2 separate regions of the Homo sapiens genome follow, and region 1 is linked to region 2. Evidence: promoter capture Hi-C in 16 types of primary human blood cells and fetal thymus (Javierre and others, 2016). All regions are on one chromosome and are shown on one strand. The core of a region is centred on a gene start or on the middle of the fragment in contact, and the rest is flanking DNA. Distances in the headings are between cores, read along the strand shown.

Region 1 (5,414 bases), core at 1,701-4,200, 76 kb after region 2:
AATCTACAACAGTACATTTCTTTGTGAATATTCACATCCCTCCCACCTGCAAAATACATTCACCCACAATCCCAAGACTCCCCCAGTTTTTATTTCATTTATTTATTGAGACAGGGTCTCGCTCTGTCACCCAGGCTGGAGTGCAATGGCACAATCTCGGCTCACTGCAGCCTCTGCCTCCTGGGTTCAAGCGATTCTCCTGTCTCAGCCTCCCAAGTAGCTGGGATTACAAGGTATGCACCACCACACCCGGCTAATTTTTATATTTTTAGTAGAGACGGGGTTTCACCATGTTAGCCAGTCTGGTCTCAAACTCCTGACCTCAAGTGATCTCCCTGCCTCCGCCTCCCAAATGCAGCCTCCCCCAATTTTTACTCAAATCATGGTACTTGGCTTAAGATCCAGGATCTTATCATCTGTATATCAGGCCTAAATATGGTTTCTCTTGATCTGAAGACCTAAGAACTTAAAAAAATCCCATTCAACATACAGTGGTAGAATACAGGATAGCAGCAATAAATTATTCCATTCAAAAAAAAAAGGGAAGAACTGCCAGGCGTGGTGGCTTCTGCTTGTAATCCTAGCACTTTGGGAGGCCAAGGTGGGTGGATCACCTGAAGCTAGGAGCTCGAGACCAGCCTGGCCAACATGGTGAAAGCCCGTCTCTACTAAAAATACAAAAATTAGCTGGGCGTGGTGGCACATGCCTGTAGTCCCAGCTACTCGGGAGGCTGAGGCAAGAGAATCACTTGAACCTGGGAGGCAGAGGTTGCAGCAAGGTGAGATCATGCCACTGGACTCCAGCCTGGGCAACAGAGCGAGACTCTGTCTCTAAAAAAAAGAGAGAGAGAGAAATGAAATCAGAAATCGCCAGTCCATAGCAGTTCTGAAATTCTACTGGGCAAATGTTGACAGGTCCCACGGTCCTAGGGGTTGAGAATGCTCTCTGATTAGGCTCTGATTCTGGATCTCCCATCCATTGTTCCCCGTGGCTGTTGGTGCACTCCTCTGGAAGACCTTCCTTTTCTATCATCCTTGGACATCACCCATGGACACTTCTGAAAAAGATATTAAATAATTTTTGTGGGTGAGCAGCTTTTTTCAGCCTACTGCCTACTTGTAGAAATTTGGGGCCCCAGAAATCTTTTTACATCTTCAATAGTCTCTGTTTCTTTCCGTTGGAGCAGGCAGTCTTTCACCAATACAGCTCTCTCACAAACTTTGTGGATTTTTTTTTTTTTTTTTAGACAGAGTCTCACTCAGTCGCCCAGGCTGGGGTGCAGTGGCGCATTCTCGGCTCACTGCAACCTCCGCCTCCCGGGTTCACGCCATTCTCCTGCCTCAGCCTCCCGAGTAGCTGGGACTACAGGCGCCTGCCACCAGTGCCCAACTAATTTTTTATATTTTTAGTAGAGACAGGGTTTCACCGTGCTAGCCAGGATGGTCTCGATCTCCTGACCTCGTGATCCGCCCACCTCAGCCTCCCAAAGTGCTGGGATTACAGGTGTGAGCCACCGCGCTCGGCCAACTTTGTGGATTTTTATGTGTTTTATACTCATCAACTCTATGTACCACAAGCCACACCCACAATTTTTACAAGACAGAATCTACCGAGACTTAAGTACTGGGAATGTCAGGCTGCTGTAGAACCTTGCTCTTAAGTTTTCTACAAGCTTCATTTTCAGCTGCAAGAGCCTATTAGATGCCATCTGATTTCCTTCAGAGCTTAATACTCTTGATTTTGACTTCACCTGGAAACAGTATCGTTCTTGCCGCACTCTGGATTAGGTCTTTAGCCCCAGGATGGATCTTAATTTGAAAATCTCTTACTAGAGAGATTGGAGATGAGAAAGTTTTATTTTTCAACCCCACAAATTCTGGGTTCTCTATATTCCCACTGAATCCTGCTTGCAAACTAGCCAGTTTTCTGAGTTTATCACTTTCTTGTTAGTGCTTCATCAAATACAGCTAAAAGCAGCCAGCTCATGCTTGCAATGTTTTGCCTTAAGATCCCCTCCTTCACCTTTGCTAGTTTATAAGATACGTTTCCTGCCTTCCAAATTATTGTAGTTTAGTCACAAGTTTACCACTAAATAATACAAGTTGCTATTATTCCCGGCTTTTATACCAGCTTCCTTGCTGCCCACTTGCCTAGTCCCAAAGCCAATGTCACATATCTTTGTGTTTTGTTGTTCTAGTTATAACAGCACCTTGCTATTTAAAATGACTGCAAAGGCAGGGCACAGTGGCTCACATCTACTCCCAGCACTTTGGGAGGCCAAGGCAAGTGGATCACTTGAGTCCAGGAGTTTGAGACCAGCCTGGCCAACATGGTGATATGCCATTTCTACTAATAATACAAAAAAAATCAGCCAGGTGTGATGGTGCATGCCTGTAGTCCCAGCTACTCAGGGGGCTGAGGTGGAAGGAACGCTTGAGCCTGGGACGTAAAGGCTGTGGTGAGCCCTGATCGTGCCACTACACTCCAGCCTGGGCAACAAAGTGACTCTGTCTCAAAAATTAATTAATTAATTAATTAAGTGATTGCAAAAGATGAAATGAAAATGAATGGTGTAAAAGAGAGAAAATAAAAGGGCACAGACCCAAGCCCTGGATAACTCTAACATTTAAAGATGTGGTAGAGGAAAAGAAGAAAGGAGTCTGAGAAGGAATGGACAATAGAGATCATAAAACCAAGGAGGAAAAAGGAGTGTTTTAAAAGAGAAAATGGGCCGGGGGCAGTGGCTCACGCCTGTAATCCCAACACTTTGGGATCACTTGAGGTCAGGAGTTCAAGACCAGCCTGGCCAACATGGTGAAACCCTGTCTCTATTAAAAATACAAAAATTAGCTGGGCATGGTGGGGCACGCCTGCAGTCCCAGCTACTTGGGAGGCTAAAGCAGAAAAATTGCTGGAACGTGGGAGGCAGAGGTTGCAGTGAGCTGAGATTGTAACACTGCACTCCAGCCTGGGCAACAGAGTGAGACTCCGTCTCAAAAAATAAAGTAAAATAAAATAAAATAGAAAATGATGAGTTACGTCAAATGCTCCTGGGAGATCAAGGACAGAGATGTACATGTCTTCAGGATTTGGCAATATGGAGGGCAATAGGTCACTTTGAGAACAGTTTAGTGGAATGACAGGGCAAATTCAAGTTGACATGAATTGAAGAGCTAATAGGGGGTGAGAAAATGTATGCAGCAGATGTAGACAACACCTTGGAGGTGTCTGGGGATAAAGAAGAGCAGAAGACTGAGCGTGGTGGCATACGCCTGTAATCCCAGCACGTTGAGAGGCTGAGGTGGGAGGATTGCATGAGCCCGGGAGTTCAAGACCAGGTTGGGAAACATAGTGAGACTCCATCTCTGCAAAAGAATTTTAAAAATTAGCTGGGTTTGATGACGTGCACCTGTAGTCCCAGCTACTTGGGAGGCTGAGGCAGGGGGAATCACTTGAGCTCAGGAATTCGAGGCTGCAGTGAGCTGTGATCGCCCTGCTGCACTCCATCCTGGGTTGGCCATCATCCTCAGCAAACTAACACAAGAACAGAAAACCAAACACCGCATGTTCTTACTCATAACTGAGAGTTGAACAATGAGAACACATAGACCCAGAGAAGGGAACAACACGCACACAGGGCCTGTTGGGAGCTGGAGGTTGAGCGGGGGGTACTTAGAGGATGGGTCAATAGGAGCAGAAACCACCATGGCACACATACACCTATGGAACAAACCTGCACGTTCTGTACATGTATCCCTTTTCTTTGGTTTGTTTTTCTTTAGAAGAAATAAAGGGGGAAAAAAAGAAGAGCAGAAAAATATGATGGCAAGTGGAGAGGATGTGGAATCAAGAGAGAGAACTTTTTTGTTCTTGAGAGAAGATAGCAGTGCATGTGTGTGTGTGCTGGTGGAAGTGATCCAGGCAAAGAAAAAGACTGACAGTCAAGAAACAGAGATGATGAAGCAGTTTAAAAGACAAGAAGGGATGGAATCCAGACCACTTGTGAGGGATTAGACTTCAGTCGTAAGAGGGTCATTCTCTCAGTTGTAACAGGAGAGAACAAGGAGCAGATGAAGTTAATTCAGAGATAAGAAGCCAAAACAATGAGCACCCGCTTTTCCTGGGTGCCTGCTCTGTGTCAGGCATTGCACCAGAAGTTCTGCATGCAGTACTTGGGCCCCTTGATTTTGGTTTTATTTCATTCCCATTTTACAGACAAGAAAACAGAAGCTTAAAAGGTTAATTTTCCTAAAGTTTCTCAACTTACAAGTAGCAGAACTGGGATTCAAACCCCATCCATCTGACCATGAACCCATATTTGATTTCTATTCCAAACAGATTCATTTTTCCATAGAGAAATAATGTTCAAAAAATGAGACAAAACTAAGAATACACGGCCTGCAGACCAGACCTGGTCTAGTCTGGATCCCTGGGGCTCCCTTCTCAGGGGAGCAGGAGGGGTGGAGGGCAGTTGCTGTGGTGAAGACATTTGAAGGAAGTGGGGAGAGAAGACTGATACTAACTCCAGTCCGTTCACCTTTTAGATACTGCATATTTTTCAAAGAATTTTTGTGTTCCTTCTCTCAGTGAGCAATGAATAGCTTCAGTGGAGCTAGAAATCTTTCTGTAGGAAGAAAGGAGCTATGCTCTGGTTGTCATGAGGCATTTGAGTTCTAGGGGATCTGAAATAGGATTCTTCACATTTATCCTTGGCATAGTCTAGGGTAATTCAGTAAATTTTTTTTTTTTTAGACAGAGTCTTGCTCTGTCACCCAGTCTGGAGTGCCGTGGCACAATCTCAGCTCACTGCAACCTCTGCCTCTCAGATTCCAGTGATTCTCGTGCCTCAGCCTCCTGTGTAGCTGGGATTACAGGCATGTGCCACAATGCCTGGCTAATTTTTGTATTTTAATAGAGACAGGGTTTCACTATGTTGGCCAGGATGGTCTCAAACTCCTGACCTCAAGTGATCTACCTGCCTCGGCCTTCCAAAGTGCTGGGATTGTAAGAGTGAGCCACCACACCCAGCCTTTTTTTTTTTTTTTTTTTTTTTTTGTCCAGATGGGATATTGCTCTGTAGCCCAGGCTGGAGCGCAGTGGAACGATCGTGGCTTACTGCAGCCTCAAACTCCGGGATTCAGGCAGTCCTCCTGCCTTAGCCTCTGGAATAGCTAGAATTACAGGTGCACACCATCGCGCCTGGCTACTTTTTCTATGTTTTGTAGAGACAGGGTCTTGCTTTGTTGCCCAGGCTGGTCTCAAACTCCTGGGTTCAAGCCATCCTCCCGACTTAGCCTCCCAAAGCGCCAGGATTGCAGGCATGAACTACCATGCCCAGCCCAAGCATAGTATTAATACACACCTTTTAAAAGGATGAGTTCCATCCCTTTGCAGCCGGTTAGACCTGTTCTAC
Region 2 (5,177 bases), core at 793-3,292:
TGTAAGGTGCTTAGGGTATGATGTAGAATGCAACAAACATGGTTCTTGACTTCATGAAGTTTACAATCCAGCAGGAAATAATAATTTAGTGGAAAGAATAGAGCCTAACATAATAAATGCTGGTGTATGAATGAATGATTAAACATGGATTAGAAGTTCCTCAACAGGCCAGGCGTGGTGGCTCACCCCTGTAATCCCAGCACTTTGGGAGACCGAGACAAGCGGATCACTTGGGGTCAGGAGTTTGAGACCAGCCTGGCCAACATGGTGAAACCGTATTTCTACTAAAAATTATTTGGGCATGGAGGGGCATGCCTGTAATCCCAGCTACTTGGGAGGCTGAGGTAGGAGAATCGCTTGAACTCGGGGCGGAGGTTGCAGTAAGCCAAGATCACACCACTGCACTCCAGCCTGGGCGAGAGAGTGAGATTCCATGTCAAAAAAAATAAATAAATAAAAATAAAGTTCCTCAACAAATAATCCTGATATCACGAATTATAGAAATAGTTGTAAATGTAGAACTCTAAGTGATCAAATTAACAATTTATTTAGAGTTGCCAATTAAAATTTTAAAATACCAACAGCACACATATACATAAACATACTTAATATTTAGATGCTACCTTAATGTTAAACATAAGTAAAAAGGACAATGAAATAATAGCAAGAATGAGATTTTGAGTCTCATTCTTTTTAGACAATTTATAATCCTATGTGGTTCTCTGTAAAGTGGATTATCAGTGTGTACTCCATTTCTCCCCACCCTCCCTTTTTTTTTTCCAGATGAGAAATCTGAGGTTTTAGACACTTAACTACAAAACAAAAGAATGACTTTTTTTTTTTTTTTTTTTTTTGTCACCCAGGCTGGAGTGCAATGGTGTGATCTCGGCTCACTGCAACTTCCGCCTCCCGGGTTCAAGCGATTCTCCTGCCTTGGCCTCCTGAGTAGCTGGGATTACAGGCGCATGCCACCACGCCCGGCTACTTTTTGTATTTTTAGTAGAGACAGGGTTTCACCATGTTTGTCAGGCTGGTCTTGAACTCCTGACCTCTTGTTCCGCCCGCCTCGGCCTCCCAAAGTGTTGGCATTGCAGGCGTGAGCCACCGCGCCCGGCCAGGAATGACTTCTTAAACCAGGATTTGATTTTGGTTGAACTTTGCTTTCAGAACTAGAACTACCTGCTATCCAAGACTTGTTAACCACGTTTTCATGGGCAAATTACAAAACCCTTTCAACCCCAGTTTCCTCTTCTATAAACTAGTGGTAATATTATTATCTCCAGAATTAATCTTAGGAGTAAATGAAATTATGTAAAGGCATTTAGTCTCATAACCGGGCTCCTAGAAAGCACTCAGGAATGTTAGTTCTCTATCCATTTCCCCTGTTTATCTTTGTGTTTGATGAATTATAGGATGATATGAAATGATCTGAAATGAACTGTAATATAAACATCAATAAAACACCAATAAAAAATTTTATTCTCACATCTGGATGCTATACTAGGCCTTCACCTCCTCCAAAAGTTACAGTTTTATTAATATTCATTTATTATTTATTATTATAGTCAAAGACCCAGAGAAGCATTCCAGGAACAAAGCAGCAGGTAAGATTTTTCTGGGAAAAGACAGAGATTTTGAGGGACCCAGGATTTGGGGGTCATTTAAGCAGCAGTGGATGTCAGTCTTCAAGCTTTGCCCATTTACTCTTGGTCCCTTTTGGTTCAGGAAAGGAAGAACAACAAGCACGAAACCATTCACTGAGACCTTTGCGGGTGGGGGAGGAGGGATGTAAACAAAAGCCAACGCTCTCTTTAGTTCACAATGGCTCGCGACCCCAAGACTTCCAAGCTCTTTGGTGAGGGCCAGCAGGTCTGTTCTCCAGGAGTGCCCTGGGTCTGGACTTCATTTCCCAGAGTCCCTTAGTGCCCTAATGTATTCAGTGCTCAGAGTGCCTGTATGTGTGTGAGTGTGAGAGAATGTGTGCGTGCGTGTGTGTGTGCGCGCGTGTGTGTGTCTCCGAGTCCCTGGGAGAGTGGAGGCTCATTCACTGATTAGATCCAGCGCTGAGAGGCAGCACTGCTCCTTCTCTCACGCCAACTGAGTCTCTTGATCTGTACATGCAATCCCAGGCAGCTCGCGAACACAAACCCGGGGCCAGCCGCCTACTGCTGCTGCTGCTGCTGCCGCTGCCGCCGCCGCCGCCGCCGCTGCCTCCGCCGGCTCTGCGAACCCGGGACTTTTCATGCACCACACTCTCCGCCTGCTTCCCTCCGTGTCCTGAAAAGTGCGACCGTTCTCCCAAGGAATTTCCACGGCAAGTATGGAGATCAGAAAGGGGTGTGGACGTGTGTGCGTACCCAAGAGGGGTGGGTGCGAGGGCGGCCGGCTTGTTCAGGAACCTGGCTAACTTTCCGGGTCCGTTTCCTAGGGATTCGGGCGGTTCCCTCTGGACGGGGGCAGGGACTGGGACTCGGACTGGCGCGTCTTGGATCATCGCGACGGAGCCTCTCGGCATCGGCGCCCTGCGCGCTCCGTGCGCTGCCTCGCTCAAACTTTCCGTCTTGAGTTTTCCTTAATGTGTTTTATTTGGGGAGGGGGGGAGGTGCAAGGGGGAGGGACCAGACGCGGGAATTGGACAAGTTGGGAGGGTGAGGGCACTGCAAGGGAAGGGAGCAGGACTTCTTTTCTCCGTCTCTTAATAAGCCCCATTCCCACTTTGTTCGGGTCGATATCGAGAATGCCTTCTCGCCGGGCTCTCTGGTGCACCCCCCGGTGATTTCCGGGCTCCCCTATGTACCCCGCGTTGATTTCCGGCGAGGCCAGGGCTGGGTGGTACTCAGTGGGGAGCCCGAGGCGGCGGGCGGATGGAGAAGGGGCGAGCCGAATGAGAAACTACCCCGACAGCCTCCACCCCACACACAGCCGGCTCCGCGGGATACCCGGGGAGTGGCTGTTTAGCCCTGGACCCCGGGTGCTCGGCTGACTTTTTCCTAGCGGGGGCGGGTGTGAAGGGTGTGGAGGGAGGGAGGTGGGGTAGGATGGATGGATCCTCTGCGGGCAGGAAGGAGGCAGGTGCTAGCATAGAGGCGGACCGTTCTAAACGCCACCGGTAAACTCCCCACTCCTCTGGGCTGGACCGGCCTGGCCGTAGAGTAGCCCGACACGTGGGATCTCCCGGGATTTTCGGGGTCGGGACCCCCTCTCCCAGCGGTTCTACTGAGCAAGGCGGGAGGACGATCGTGGAGACGAGGGCTACTTGACTACTCTACTTGTAGTTTTATTTTTATCTTAGACCTGCCTTAAACTGAGTAACAATTTCTCTTCTGACTTAAGAACAAAACTTTTCAGTGAGCACGCCGGTCGCTGCGGTCCTGCGGCCACTGCCGCCGCGCTTGTCAGCCCGGGCCGAGCGACCTTCTCTGCCCGGAACCCAGCCCCGCCACCGCACTCCGGAGCCTCCGGCCTCCCCCACCCCACCCCCGCCCCCCAACCCGGGGCTTTTCAGGGCTCGGCCTGGGCGTTTCGCCTTTGTGCTTTGTAAGAGAAAGCCTTTTCTTCCAGGGCACAACAAACTTGGGCGGAGAGCTTCCGTGTGGCCCCCCGGGCGAGGCCGCCCACGGTGGTGAGGCCATCCGAGGGGATGCCCGGTTCATCCCCCAGTCCAGGAGCCTCTCCGAGAGCTCGCGGCCCAGGTCGACCCCAGCTGGCGAGGGCGCGCAGGAGTCCCGAAGTAGCGGGGACTAGGGCAGCCAGGAGGCAGGGGGAAAGCTCTCGCTTCCCGTTAAGCACACCCTGCATTCTCGGGTCGTGGATGCAGCTCCAGCGGAGAGCCCGTGTTCCGGCCCTGAGCCAGGCGCGCGTCGCACTGGGTGGGTGCATGGGGCCCGGGCCATAGGTGTGGGGGCACAGCCCTACCTGGCCGGCCCGGGTCGTCTGGGGTCTGCGCCGGCCCACTGGCCCGGGAGCCGCCGAGGGGGAGAGCACCGCACTCGCTGCCCACGACGCCCAGCAGCCACATCTTGCCTCTCGCCTCCGCTCCGGACTCGGCTTGAGGGGCAAAGGGGAGAGAAAGGAAAAATAAAGAAAAAAAAGGGCGGCAGTGAGGAAGCAGCGAGGGGACTGGGGGGAGCAGAGTGGGCAGGGGGGCTTTGCCTTGCCTGGCCTCCTCTTTCCGTCTCGCGGGCTCTTCCTGCAAAGGGGAATGAGCAGAGGGGGGAAAGGCAGAAAGAGCGTCGAGGAAGAGCGGTGCTGGCGTCTTCCGTGCCGATCCCTCCTGGCCCGCAGAGACCCGGCAAAAGTGGCGTGAGTTCGCTTGCTGCGCTTCGAGGCAAGGCTGGGGAAGGCCGAGGACGGGGCGGCGCCGCGTCGCGCCGCTGGTGGCCGACAGGGCCGGGGCCGGGCGCGGAGCGAGCGGGGACACACACCTGTTCTGCGAGCCGCGCGGTGTGCGGCGGCCGGACGGCCGCGGTGCGGGCCGCAGAACCCTCCCTCCCGCACTGCGCATCCGCAGTCCAGGAGCTGGAAGGGCCCGGCAGCCCCGCGCCGGTCCGTATTTGCAGGAGAAGCGGGAGTGGAGGAGTCCGCGGCTGCCCGCTGAAGCGGTGGTGCGCGCGGCGGCGGGACCCGGGTGACCCCCGGGGCGGGGCTGCTCGGGGGCTGGAGGTCCTTGGACTTTGGTCGAAGGCTGGCAGCTCTGAGCCCCTGCCCCGCGGGCCCCGCGCGGCTGCGGACCAGGGGCCCTTGCACGTGTCGGTTCTTCCTGGACTGGCGCTTTGGTTGCCCAAAGTTGGGCGCAGATTGTTTCGTGCGGAGGTTGTTGGGACCCAGAGTATTCTATATACAAAGGCAACCGAGAGCCGGAGGGAGAGGTCGGGCCAAAGAGTAGTGGGCTCGGCTCCGCGTTGGGCCCAAGTTTATGTAGGTTTCGCCTTCACCTCTTCTTCCCCCGTTTTCCCTAAAAGAGTTGATTTTTTTTCCCAGTCGAGACTCTTCCGAGCTGAATAATGCACCCGCTCGCTGAGCCAGTATCCCGCGACCCCGCACTCTCGGACTGGCCCGGGCTGTCTCGGATTCGCACCCTTTGGCCAAGCTGGGCCTGAACCCGGGTCCAAATCTGGGACCATACCCGGCCATGCCTGAAACACAGGCGTCGGCCCTAGCCCGGGAACTGTGTTAGC

What was found. The method cuts DNA at HindIII sites, captures the fragments that hold promoters and counts their contacts. A CHiCAGO score of 5 or more calls a contact.
Region 1: a fragment that was not itself captured here is called in contact with the fragment with the promoter of RNF220 in region 2 in 3 of 17 cell types (megakaryocytes, monocytes and endothelial precursors); the score reaches 10.8 in megakaryocytes.

The regions. Positions count from the first base shown.
Region 1 is chr1:44,477,890-44,483,303 of GRCh38, forward strand. All of the region lies in intron 2 of RNF220 (ring finger protein 220), which reads left to right. Among named protein-coding and RNA genes, the nearest start is that of MIR5584, 65 kb to the right of the region's middle. The HindIII fragment of the contact is 2,558 bases long and covers 1,672-4,229 here.
Region 2 is chr1:44,403,213-44,408,389 of GRCh38, forward strand. RNF220 (ring finger protein 220) reads left to right here and starts at 2,043. Exons shown (of 15, transcript NM_018150.4): 1 at 2,043-2,318. RefSeq lists an enhancer at 2,936-3,458. The HindIII fragment of the contact is 8,690 bases long and covers 1,689-5,177 here.